Linked DNA regions of Homo sapiens: region 1 is linked to region 2. Evidence: promoter capture Hi-C in human tissues and cell types (Jung and others, 2019). All regions are on one chromosome and are shown on one strand. Each heading gives the region's core, a stretch centred on a gene start or on the middle of the fragment in contact. The rest is flanking DNA. Distances are from core to core; before and after follow the strand shown.

Region 1 (6,351 bases), core at 3,062-5,561, 100 kb after region 2:
TCCCAAAGTGCTGACTACAAGCGTGAGCCACCGTGCCTGGCCAGAAAGTGGTTTTATTGTCCCCGTTTTGCAAATGAGGAAACTGAGAGGCTCAGAGAGGTTAGGCGACTTGCCCAAGGTCACACGGGAAGCCTGGATCATTGCAGGGATTAAACCCAGGCTCTCTTCCCACCCCCCATGAGCACCCCCACCATTCATCTAGACATGGGGTGGCTCACCTTCTGCAGGAGAGCCTCAGTGTGGGCAGTGAGCACCAGGTGGGAGCCCAGACGCGCGTAGTGATAGGCCAGCTCCTCACCAACACCAGCGTTGGCCCCTGTCAGCAGCACTCGCGCTCCCTGGAGGCTGGCTGGCCATAGCCGGGGTGGTCACTCTGGGCGGAGGACAGGACAGCTGGCCCGGTTTCTCCCTCCCTCAACCCCAGGTGCTCACCTGGGTCGAAGTTGTCATCCCAATAATAGGCGAAGAACAGGGCCCCCAGCCCTGTGAGGAGAAGCACCTTCATGGTCCTGTGTGGGCCTGCAGAGGGACAGGGGACAGAGGTGGCCGGCACAGGCCTGGCCCACAGCCACCCGTGTTTGGTGGGTGTTTGGTGATGCCACCGCCTTGGATCCACGCCTTCCTATCCACCTCCACAGCCACCACCTGTCCAGGCCACCACGGTGGCTCCATGAACCACCGCGGCTCCATGAACCACCGCACCTGCACCCTCCCCCTCCACCCTTCTCAGCCCTCTCCATCTGCACACCTTGCCTCTCCTGGACTGAAAATCCTTCCTGTTCCAGTTAGAATAAAAACCAGACTCCTTGGTGGCTACAAACGCCCTGTGTGGACCTGTCCTCCTTGCTCACTCCGCTCCACTAAAACAGACCCTTCGCTGTTCCTTGAAACCAGCCAGTCACTATCCTGCCTCAGGGCCTTCTCGTGGGCTGTTCCTACTGCCTAGAATGCTGTTCCCGGATATAACCCAATGGCTTGCTCTCTCACTTCTTTCAAGTCTCAGTGCAAAAGTGACCTCCTTCAGCTGGATGTGGTGGCTCATGCCTGGAATCCCAGCACTTTGGGAGGCTGAGGCGGGCAAATCACTTGAGATCAGGAGTTCGAGACCAGCCTGGCCAACATGGTGAAACCCCATCTCTATTAAAAATACAAAAATTAGCCGGGCGCGGTGGCAGGCGCCTGTAATCCCAGCTACTCAGGGGGCTGAGGCACGCACATGCCTGTAATCCAGATATTTGGGAGGCTGAGGCAGGAGAATCGCTTGAACCTGGGAGGCAGAAGTTGTAGTGTGCCGAGATTTGCCATTGCACTCCAGCCTAGGCAACAAGAGCGAAACTCCGTATCAAAAACAAACAAACAAACAAAAAAAGAACAGTGACCTCCTTCAAGTGAGGGCCTCCTTTTTTTATTATTTATTTTTTTATTTTTATTTTTTTTTATTTTTGAGGCAGAGTCTCACTCTGTTGCTCAGGCTGGAGTGCAGTGGTGCGACCATAGCTCACTGCAGCCTGGACCTCTTGGGCTCAAGCAATCCTCTTGCCTCAGCCAATGGAGCAGCTGGGACTACAGGTGGGCGCACCAGCACACCCAACTAATCATCGTATTTTTTGTAGGGATGGGGTCTCACTATGCTGCCCAGGCTGATTTTGAACTCCTGGGCTCAAGTGATCCTCCCGCCTCAGCCTCCCAAAGTGCTGGGATTACAGGTGTGAACCACCGTGCCCAGCCCAAGGACCATTTGTTACTCGTTCCACCATCCTTCTCTCCCTGTAGACCATCAGCTCCATAAGGGCAGGAAGGAAATGGAAATCTTCTACTTTGTTCCCTATTGGGTCTTCAGGGCCCAAAACTGTGCCAGGTACACAGTAGGTGCTCAATAGGTACCAGATTGATCATGGAGTGATATGAGGCACGTGGGAGGCGAGAGGTGAGGAAGCCAAGAGACAGCTCGCTCTCTGGAGACACCCAGAAGGCATTTGACACATGGGGCTGGGTTGGAGACAGAGGTGCCTGCGTCATCCAGATGAAGATATGATTTATGATTTCAGCTATGGGAGCTGATTCACTAATTCCAGGGAGAAGGTGAAAGAGAGAAACAGTCCAGGTTCTTTTTTTTTTTTTTTTTTTTTGAGACTGAGTTTCACTCTTGTTGCACAGGCTGGGATTACACTTTGTAATCCCAGCATTTTGGGAGGCCGAGGTGGGCGGATCACTTGAGGCTGGGAGTTCGAGACCAGCCTGACCAACATGGAGAAACCCAGTCTCTACTAAAAATACTAAATTAGCTGGGCATGCTGGCACATGCCTGTGATCCCAGCCAATGGAGCAGCTAGGACTACAAGTGGGTGCACCAGCACGCCCAACTAATCATCGTATTTTTTGTAGAGATGGGGTCTCCTGCTGAGGCAGGAGAATTGCTTGAACCCAGCGGGGTGGAGATTGCAGTGAGCTGAGATCGCCCCACTGCATTCCAGCCTGGGCAACAGAGTGAGACTCTGTCTAAAAAAAAAAAAAAAAAAAAAAAAAAGTCAATGGGACAAGGGGAAGGGGACTTCCAGAACCAGGAAGCTGAGACAGACCAGATGGAGCGGATCATTGAGGAGTCCCTAAATCTCCCATCTGTAGGTCCAGCCCTAGGTTCTTTGCCTCTGCTGTCTTCTGGGTGTCTCCTCCTGACAACCTCCAGGCCCCTTAGAACCAGCAGGACCCAATCCAGGCTCAGCATGTCACCCCATACCTGCTTCTCTTCCCAGCTCACCATCACAGAAATAGCCCCACTATCCCCTGTCCCTAAATGGGAGACCCAGGTATTGTCCTCACCTCCTTCTATCCTTTCACCCCCACGAGCTCATGGTTTTCAGATCTTATCAGTTCTCCCTCTCCAGTCTCTCCCCAGCTGTCCCTTCCTCTCTCTCTCCAGGACTCCCAGATTGTCACCTCCCTCCTAGACCCTACCCCGGGCCTGACCACCCCCATCTTTCCTTTGGCCTCCCTTCCATCTCCGATTTGGTCTCCCCCACCTCCACACTGGCTTCCCCATGTCCATACTCATTCTCTCCCTGCCTCTTCTGTCAATGCAGCCAAAGGCGTCTGTGTCAAAAGCAACATGGCCATGGCCCTTCCTGCTCCAAACCCTCTCAGGGGTCCCCACTGCAACTGATGGAAACCAGGCTCCTCACTGCACCCCATGAGGCCCTGCAGGTATAGCCCCTGACTACCTGTCTATCCTTCTCTCCCACGGCCCCATCTATGAATCGTTCAGTTCTCAAAATAATGAACTCCTCACCTTTCCCAGACACACCAGGCATGCCCACAGCAAGAAACGAGCTTCCACCTTTTCCCCTTCCAGGGACAGCCCATGAAGCTCCTCTGCTCATCCCTCTTTCCACCCCCAGCTCTACACTGACTGCAGCAGCCCGGCAGGGGGAAGTGGGACCAGATGGACTGACGGGTGGACGGATGGGTGGATGGATGAATGGATAGATGGACAGATGCATGTATGGATGCATAGATAGAAGGATGGATGGGTGGATGGCCAGATGAATAGATGGATGGGTGGATGGATGGATGATGGACGGAGAGATGTATGGGTGGATAGATGGATGAGTGGATGGATGTATGAATGGATAAATGGGAACACATAAATGGATGGATGGATGGATGGATGGATGGACGGACGGATGCATGGATGGATGGATGGATGGATGGATGGATGGACGGATAGATGAGTGGGTGGCCAGATAAATAGATGGATGGGTGGACAGATGGATGAGTGGAAGGATGGGGGGAGCAGATGGATGAATGGATGGGCGGACAGATGGATGAACGGAAGTGTGGATGGATAGATGGAAGGATAGATGGGTGGATGGCCAGATGGATAGACGGGTGGGGGACAGATGGATGGATGGGCAGATGAACGGTTGAAGCAGCCCGGCCGAAATGCGGGAGAAATGGGGGGAAGCCCTGCAGAACGCATCGGCCCCTTCTTGACCTCGGCGGGCCTTAGCTTCCCCTCTGAACAAAGCGGGCGTGTGACCCTCTGCGCACCCCTAAACCGTGCACTCACCCGCTCAGGCCTCAGTTTCCCCCACTGTCCAGCGGGGGTGGGGTCCCGGGCTGGGAGCCACGCGAACGCCCCCACGGTCCTCTCTTCTCGGCCGCCTCCTGCCGGGTCCCCGACCGCACCCCCTCCCGTAGGGCACGGGTCACGTGACTCGAAGCCCACCTCCTCCCGGGGAGGGGCCGGGCCTCGGGGACCCAGCGCCGGAGCGTCGCCGGGCAACAGTGCCCGCCTGGTCTTCGCCTCCCAGCAGGGGCCCGGCCCCGCCCACTGGGCGGACGCCCCGCCTCCGAATCGATCACGTGAGGGGGCCGCAGCGCTCGAACAATCCCGCCCTCTCGTTGCCGTGACAACCGCCTTGTAGGCACACTCTTCTTAAATCCGGGCCCTTGGTCCCCCGCGCGGGCGCGGGTGGATCTCTCGGGCTCTGACTTGTTTTCGGGTCACCTTCAGGCTTCAGCCAGGCACCTGACGCCTCTTTCCCCTCACGGTGCCAGGGCCGGGCCGAACTACATTTCCCAGGAGGCTCCGCGGCCAGGTGCAAACAGCGCCGTGCTGACTACATTTCCCAGACAGCCTTGCGGCGGCCCGGGCCTTAAAGCGTCCATTTCCCAGCGGCCCTCCGCTGCGAGACCGCAGCCCTTCTCTGGAGTCTCAGAGCCGCAAGACACCACGACTCCCAGAGGACCTTGCGTCGGGCAAGAAAGACTACACCTTCCAGAGGCCTCTGCGGCGCCGCGACAGGAAGCGGCGGGCGAGCCGAGTGTCCTTGCGCGTGGATCCGAGCGACCATGGTGGCCCGGGTGTGGTCGCTGATGAGGTGCGTGGGGGCGCCGGAGGGGACCCGAGTCCCCGAAAAAGTCCATTTTTGTGGGCATCCCTGTCTCCAGTCTGGTCCCGATCTGCTCTTCGCTTCCCTTAGAGTCACTTCCCCTTCGTTCCCCGCCTATGGGCCAGATAGGGAAACTGAGGCTTCAGAGGGGCGGGGCTTCCCGAGGTCGCCAATCCCCTCCCTCCTGCTTCCCAGCGAGCCCTTGGCGTTCAGTTCGCGGTGTCAGCCTCCGCCTCCGAGCCTCAGTTGTCTTCTCTGTGAGGTGGGAATGCCGGTGAATCCTGCCGCTGGCGTGGATGAGAAGTGAATGCGTGCTCGGAGCTGCGAGTGACAGCGGGCAGGAGGCGCCCAGGGACACTTGGTTTCTCCAGGGCTGGAAGGCTTCTAGAAGGTCAAGATCTTACGTCTTCACTGCCCCTGCTCACTGTGGGACTTTGAGTGACCCACTCTCCCCCTCTGGGTTTCAGTTCATCAGTTCAAGTGGCGTCCAGCCGCCCTGCCTTGCACGTTGTAAAACGAGTGCTGTATATAATAGGGGTCTGGGTCGACGGTGCTGCACTACAGAGTGTCACCCTGTGGACGGTGAGCCCTCAGGAGGGTCTCACTCTCCCCGTGGGCCTTGGCCCCTGAGGGTGGCTGTCAGTGTCCGCTGAGCTTCTGCTCCTCCCGTCCCTGCCCGCAGGTTCCTCATCAAGGGAAGTGTGGCTGGGGGCGCCGTCTACCTGGTGTACGACCAGGAGCTGCTGGGGCCCAGCGACAAGAGCCAGGCAGCCCTACAGAAGGCTGGGGAGGTGGTCCCCCCCGCCATGTACCAGTTCAGCCAGTACGTGTGTCAGCAGACAGGCCTGCAGATACCCCAGGTACTACGGGCCGGGAACGAGGCCAGGGTTTGGCGGGTGGTCAGCTCTGGGAGGTCCCTCCAGCCCTGCACGATGTTGTCCTCCATATTGATGCTGACCTGATTCTCCGGCCTGTCCTCCTCCCTCCGCCTCTGGGGATGGGCTGCTGAGCCTTTTCACCAGTTCTTTCTGCCCATCTCTTTTTCCCAGCTCCCAGCCCCTCCAAAGATTTACTTTCCCATCCGTGACTCCTGGAATGCAGGTAAGGCACCCAGTTTCTTTGCTTGGAGGGAGACACCCCAGTCTAGCCCCTCTCCCCACTTCCTGGCCATTCCTTTCTGTCCATCCTCCTTCCTGCCCGACACGTGTCTCTTAGGGATCTAAAAGGGAAAGGAGGCCGAGCACAGTGGCTCACGCCTGTAATCCCAGCACTTTGGGAGGCTGAGGTGGGCGGATCATCTGAAGTCAGGAGTTCGAGACCAGCCTGGGCAACATGGTGAAACCCCATCTCTACTAAAAATACAAAAATTAACCGTGCGTGGTGGTGCACACCTGTAATCCCAGCTGCTGCTTGAGAGGCTGAAGCAGGAGAATTGCTTGAACCCAGGAGGCAGAGGTTG
Region 2 (6,641 bases), core at 547-3,046:
AAATGGGGACATCTTGTCATTTGAGGATGCCAACCGCGCCATGCAGACTGGTGTCACCGGGATCATGATTGCCCGGTAAGTGCCCAGGGATGTTAGAGATCCAGCTTCATGCACAGCAGCAGTGCCCTGAACCCAACACGCCGTCACCCACCCCTGTTCTGTGGTGGGCTGTTGGTCCCAAGATGGGAGGAGCAGAGAGCGATGTCAGGAGTTGCAGCTGCGTTGCGGCAGAGGGGACTGGAAATTGCTGCTGCTGTGGGATCTGATGATTGTGGGTTGAAAGTCCTGGGCTTTGGCCAGGTGTGTGGCTCACGCCTGTAATCCCAGCACTTTGGGAGGCCAAGGCACGCCGATCATTTGAGGTCGGAGGTTCAAGACTAGCCTGACCAACATGGTGAAACATCTCTATTAAAAATACAAAAATTAGCCAGGTGTAGTGGTACACGCCTGTAATCCCAACTACTAGGGAGGCTGAGGCAGGACAATTGCCTGAACCTGGGAGACGGAGGTTGAACAGTGAGCCGAGATCTTACCACTGCACCCCAGCCTGGGCGACAGAGCCAGACTCCGTCTCAGAAAAAACAAAAGAAAGTCCTGTGCTTTGAAGGTTGTGTGCATGCAGCTGGGAGGCTTACTAGGCTTGTAGGTTTTGTGGTCTGGGCTCCGGCTCAGGCCAGGCCATGGAAGCAGAGGCCACACGATCCCAGGCAGGCTGGTGGCTGGGCCCACTGATCGTCACCCGTCCCACAGTGGCGCCCTGCTCAAGCCGTGGCTCTTCACGGAGATCAAGGAGCAGCGGCACTGGGACATCTCGTCGTCCGAGCGCCTGGACATCCTGCGGGACTTCACCAACTACGGCCTGGAGCACTGGGGCTCGGACACGCAGGGCGTGGAGAAGACCCGGCGCTTTCTGCTCGAGTGGCTGTCCTTCCTGTGCCGGTGGGCACCGGGGCTGGCTGGGGTGGGCGGCGCGTGGGCCGCGGCTGGTTAGAGCTGACTCAAGCCTGTCCTGCCCGCCCACCCGCCGCAGGTACGTGCCCGTGGGGCTGCTGGAGCGGCTCCCACAGAGGATCAACGAGCGGCCGCCCTACTACCTGGGCCGCGACTACCTGGAGACGCTGATGGCCAGCCAGAAGGCAGCCGACTGGATCCGCATCAGGTGCCTGGGTGGGCTGGAGTTGGGGAGCTGCAGTCGGGGGCCCGGGGTCACGGAGGGTACTTTGCAGGTCCTGGGCCTGACCTCGCTTTCCACCTGCTCTCCCACAGCGAGATGCTCCTTGGGCCAGTGCCCCCCAGCTTCGCCTTCTTGCCGAAGCACAAGGCCAACGCGTACAAGTAGCCTCAGGCTTTCCCAGGGGCACCCTGGGGCGAGGAGAGTACAATAAATTTTATTCTTTTAAAATCCAGGCCTTTCTGTGACCCTGAAGCAGCCCCTCCTCGGCCCCCACCTTCCCCAAACCTCTTAGCTGCCTCCATGGGCCCTGCCCCAAGCTGGGTGCTGCTGGTGCCCAGAGAGGCCTTGACCCCCAAGAAGGTAGCGGGTTGAGGACCCGGGGGGCCTCAGCCTGTGTGGGTGTGGATCAGGGCAGCCTGCCTGGAGGAGGCGGCCTCAAAGCTGTTAGGGGGGTGTTGCTGGAAGAGGCAAAGGCCTGGCCCAGAATCCTCCCTCCCATGGTGATGACCATGTCTGCCAACGTCTGCCCCTGCTTGCCCCCAACACCCAGAACCCCAACCAGTGGGCGCGCTGCAGGCTGGAACCCGCTGCCCCGAGTAACCAGGCAAACAGAACCCCACCAGGTTCTCAGCCTGTTCTCCGGTTGGGCCACTTGCACTCCCACTGCCGCCCTCCTGGCCTGTCTGGACCGGGCCCCCCGCTGCCCCATGCAGCACCCCAAACCGTTCTGTGCCCCTGCAGCTCCCCAGGAAGGTTTCAGCCCGCAGAGTCTGGAGGGGGCTGAGGTGCTGGGCAACCAGCCTGCTCCCACCTGTGCCGAGCCTCCTCCCGCTATGGGTACGATCGGGTGGGTGGGAGCACCTGCTGGAGAGGGTTCAGGGGCCCACCCGCCTAAGGGCCCTACCCACCTGGGCACCTTTGTCCACAGGCTCCTTGAACCTGTATCATCCCCCAGACCCAGAGAAAGAGGTGTTTCCAGCCCCACCAGCAGGTACCGGCCTCCCCTGAGCCCTTGACGAGGCTGGGAGTGGGTTTGAGTGTGCAGGCCCATCTTGCCCCTGCCCCGTCCCTAAGTGGGAGCCTGAAGGCATGGCCTCTGCTCCCCATGCTTCACACAGGTCCCCCAGATGAGCCCCAAAGACAAGCTCTGTGTCATCCATCACCCAGCCAGGGCCCCAAAGCAATATCTATGTCGTCCCCCAAAGGGGCCCCCCAATGGCAAGGTTCTTGTGGCATCTCCCAAACAGGCCCCCAGGCTTGGGCTGGGCCCCTCAGGCAGCAGCTGCTCTCAGGGCACCCGCCTGCCGCCCACAGGTTTCCAGATGGCCCCATGCGGGTGCTTCTTCGACCCCCGCATCTATCGGATCGAGTGGACCACCCCCGACCTGGGCCAGTCAGCCCTGTATAAGCTGGCAGCAAGCAGCGGGGGGCCAGCGGGGGTCCCCTCCGCCCCAGGCAGCTACCTCCTGGAGCCTCAGCCCTACCTCAAGGCCCCGGGGCTGCCTCCATACCCCCACTACCAGCAGGCACCCGGGGGGCCCCAGTTTCTCTTGCCCTACTTCCCGCCTGAGGGCCCCGGGCCAGAGGCTCTGGGTTTTGTGGGGGACGCAGGGCCCGCCGCCTTCGTGGAGCTGCCCCTACCGCCCCTAGAGGAAGGCCCGGCCCCGCTGCCACCCCCACCCCCCAAGGAGAACAAGCCGCCCCCTGTACTCATCACGCTGCCTGCAGAGCCCACACTGCCCCCAGACGCCTACAGCCACCTCCAGGGTCACCTCGGCCACTTCCCTGGGCCCGAACCCCTGGCCTTCCCCGTCAAGGAGCTGCAGGGCAGTGGGGCCCGACCTGGGGTGCCCCTGTACCCACCGGGCCTCAGCGAGCTCAAGGTGGCCGAGGTCAAGGAGGGGGCCCTGCTGGGAGCAGGCAAGGCCAAGGCCCCCAAGACGGCCAGAGCTTTGGCACTGCCTGACAAGGTTCTGCTGGAGGACGCCATGAAGCTCTTCGACTGCCTGCCAGGCGCCTCTGAGCCTGAGGGTACCCTGTGCGAGGTCCCTGGGCCGGCCCTGCCTGACAGCAGTGGTGGGAACTCAGCCGATGACATCCGCTCGCTGTGCCTGCCCGAGGAGCTGCTGTCCTTTGACTACAGCGTGCCTGAGATCCTGGACACCGTGTCCAACGTTGACTACTTCTTCAACTTCAAGGCGCTCGACGAGGAGCAGCCGCCCCACCCGGGGCCCCCTGCCACCAACACCCCGGCCCCCATTCTGTCTGGCAAGAGAAAGGCCTCGACGGCCAAGAAGGGAAAGCCGGGAAGGAAGGCCAGGCAGCCGGCAGGCCCAGCCAGCGCCACTCCCCCGGGGCCCAGGGAGGACCTGGGAGCCACCCCGCATTAAAGCACATTTGACCTTTCAGCTCCATGTCCACGTGGGGGCCTTGGGGATGGGGAGGGGGCTGGAGATGCACGCCTGGCCCCTCACCCCATCATCCCGCGGACTGGCAAGGCAGCGCCCCCGGCCTCACAGTGAGGCCTCTTAGCAGGGGAGCCCCGGAATCACAGGACACCCTAAACTCCTTGAGTCCCAGCCCTGGAACATCAGACTCCTCTGGCAGAGGCAGGGGCCTCCTGGGGCACGAGGGAGCTGACCCCCAGACTCAACGCGTTCTAAGGGTTTTCACCCCTTTGTTTGGTGGGGGAAAGCAAGGCTGCCCAGAGCAGCAGGAACTTCCTTGGAGACACACAGCCATCAGGGCAGGGCTTGAGGAGCATCCTCCAGATCCCCACCCAGCTGCCTCCTGTCCCCAGGAAGCCACAGCCACTGCAGGCAGGGCGGGAAGGGCCACGCTCTTGTTCAGACAGACAGGTGGGTGCAGGGGCTTCACCTGATGGTCTGAGGGTGGGGGCTGGGGCAGGGATGAGACAGTGCCCACGCGTGAAGGGGTGGGGAGCACACGGCACCCAGGGGGCCTGGCATGTGCACCCAAGATGGAGACAGGAGACAGCACCTGGAGCCCAGGAGAGGGTCAGGGGCCCCACCCGGCCACACTTCGGGGTCCGGGGTGGCAGGGACAGCCTGGCTACTCGTTCCAAAATGGGATGGGCCCAGCCTCGGAAGAACGACCTCCGGGTGCTGGTTCCCGTCACTGCTTACCCACATCAGGGTCTCGAGAGCCCTCCTGGGGGTCCAGGCAGTGGCCACCTGTACCCTCCTCCCCTGAAACGCTCATGGTGGCCCTGGAGAGGCTGACCCCATTCCCCCAGGGACACATAAGGAAACAGGAGGTCGAGTGCCATCCAGCGCCTCCTGGGATGAGGACACCCCTCTGGGATGGGAACCTTCAGCCTACCCCTTCCCCAGGCTGCGGGCTGGATCTCCTGGGTCTCCGGAGTTTGGGTTTCAAGGCCTCTGCTTGGGGAGGCCCTGGGAGGCTCACCTAGAGTCCAGGAGGCTGATGGGTGTTTGGAGGCCGAGCAGAGACCATGGTCCCGGCTCTGTGTAGGGCACTGTGCCTGCTGCTCTCTGGAGCTACTCTCCCGGAAACCCTTATTCAAAAAACTCAGGAGGAGGCCAGGTGCAGTGGCAAACACCTGTAATCTCAGCACTTTGGGAGGCCGAGGCGGGCAGATCACTTGAGGTCAGGAGTTCGAGACCAGCTTGGCCAAAATGGTGAAACCCTGTCTCTACTGAAAATACAAAAATTGGCCGGGCGCAGCTTCTCACGCCTGTAATCCCAGTACTTCGGGAGGCCAAGGCAGGCAGATCACGAGATCAGGAGATTGAGACCATCCTGGCAAACACGATGAAACCCCAGCTCTACTAAAAATACAAAAAAATTAGCTGGGTGTGGTGGCGGGTGCCTGTAGTCCCAGCTACTCGGGAGGCTGAGGCAGGAGAATGGCGTGAACCCAGGAGGCGGAGCTTGCAGTGAGCCAAGATTGCACCACTGCACTCCAGCCTGGGCGACAGAGTGAGACTCCGTCTCAAAAAAAAAAAGAAAATGCAAAAATTATCTGGGTATGGTGGCAGGCGCCTGTAATCCCAGCTACTCAGGAGACTAAGGCACAAGAATTGCTTGAGCCCGGGAGGCAGAGGTTGTAGTGAGCCGAGATCACATCACTGCACTCCACCCTGGGCAATAGAGCAAGACTCCATTTCAAAAAACAAAAACAACTCCGGGTAGTGTCTCGGGGCCATGCAGCTGTGGCCCTCAAGACAGGGTCCCCCTGTCCCAGGGACTGTGCCATGTGCCCTCCTGGCATCTGCAGTGATCCCCATTCATCACTGTTTGACCCGTGGGGACACAGGCTGGGAGAGACTCCAAGTGCACTTTTGTTTTTTTGAGGCAGAGTTTCGCTCTTGTTGCCCAAGCTGGAGTGCAATGGCGTGATCTCGGCTCACTGCAACCTCCGCCTCCCGAGTTCAAGTGACTCTCCTGCCTGCCTCAGCCTCCCGAGTAGCTGGGATTACAGGTGTGCACCACCACACCTGGTTAATTGTATTTTTAGTAGAGACGGGATTTCACCATGTTGGTCAGGCTGGTCTCGATCTCCTAACCTCAGGGGATCCGCCCGCCTCAGCCTACCAAAGTGCTGGGATGACAGGCGTGAGCCACCGCGCCCAGCCCCAAGCCCACTTTTCTCAGCTGCTTTTCAACTCCTTCTCCCCGAAGCCTCATTAGGGGTATCTCTGAAACTAAAACCAGGTATCCCAAGTGTCGGGGAGGTCCTGGCTGATGAGGAAGTGGGGCAAGGACCTGGATCACTTTTCTTGAAGATTAATGTGGAGTGAGGGTCACACAGTGGATGTCTGCAAGGACCCAAGCAGTAGCTTTTTTTTTTCTTTCTGAGACAGGGTCTCGCTACGTTGCCCAGGCTGGAGTATAGCGCCGTGATCATGGCTTACTGCAGCCTCGACCTCCTGGGCTCAAGCGATCCTCCCACCTCAGCCTCCCAAGTAGCTGGAACTACAGGCATGCACCACCACACTCAGCTAATGTCTAAAAAAATTTTTTTGTAGAGATGGGGGGTCTTGCTATGTTGTCCAGGCTGATCTTGAACTCCTGGCCTCAAGTGATCCCCCTGCCCCAGCCTGTTGTAGCTATGTGGGGCAATTTAAAATGATCACAGAATATATATATGTATTTTTTAATATATATATTTTTATATATGTATTTTAATATATATTTATATATGTATTTATATATATGTATTTTTAATATATATATGTATTTATACATATTTTTATATGTATTTTTAATATATATATTTTATATATGTATTTTTTATGTATGTATATTTTATATATATATTTTTTTAACCAAAGAGTAATCGGAAGTCATGAGACTGACCAAATTTTCACTTAAAAGGAGATGGCTGACCCTGGTGCAGTGGTTCACTGAGAATCCCAGCACTTTGGGAGGCTGAGGCAGGAGGATCGCTTGAGCTCAGGAGTTTGAGACCAGCCTGGGCAAT

What was found. Contacts are between HindIII fragments. The study calls those that stand out against the background at their distance.
Region 1: a contact is called between the fragment with the promoter of HSD11B1L here and the fragment with the promoter of PRR22 in region 2, in 1 of the 25 tissues and cell types used here (adrenal gland).

What each region holds. Positions count from the first base shown.
Region 1 is chr19:5,678,987-5,685,337 of GRCh38, reverse strand. It overlaps HSD11B1L (hydroxysteroid 11-beta dehydrogenase 1 like), which reads right to left and starts at 4,311. Exons shown (of 8, transcript NM_198706.3): 1 at 4,067-4,311; 2 at 433-519; 3 at 219-349. The coding sequence starts at 505. It overlaps MICOS13 (mitochondrial contact site and cristae organizing system subunit 13), which reads left to right and starts at 4,822. Exons shown (of 4, transcript NM_205767.3): 1 at 4,822-4,880; 2 at 5,575-5,752; 3 at 5,942-5,993. The coding sequence starts at 4,852. RefSeq lists a silencer at 4,134-4,343 and enhancers at 4,394-4,863, 4,874-4,973, 4,994-5,073, 5,104-5,213, 5,594-5,733. The HindIII fragment of the contact is 40,206 bases long and covers 1-6,351 here.
Region 2 is chr19:5,779,901-5,786,541 of GRCh38, reverse strand. PRR22 (proline rich 22) reads left to right here and starts at 1,796. Exons shown (of 3, transcript NM_001134316.2): 1 at 1,796-2,011; 2 at 2,103-2,165; 3 at 2,489-3,582. The coding sequence starts at 1,882. The coding sequence ends at 3,564. DUS3L (dihydrouridine synthase 3 like) reads left to right here. Exons shown (of 13, transcript NM_020175.3): 10 at 1-75; 11 at 751-939; 12 at 1,031-1,159; 13 at 1,267-1,402. The coding sequence ends at 1,339. RefSeq lists a silencer at 5,632-5,810. The HindIII fragment of the contact is 36,623 bases long and covers 1-6,641 here.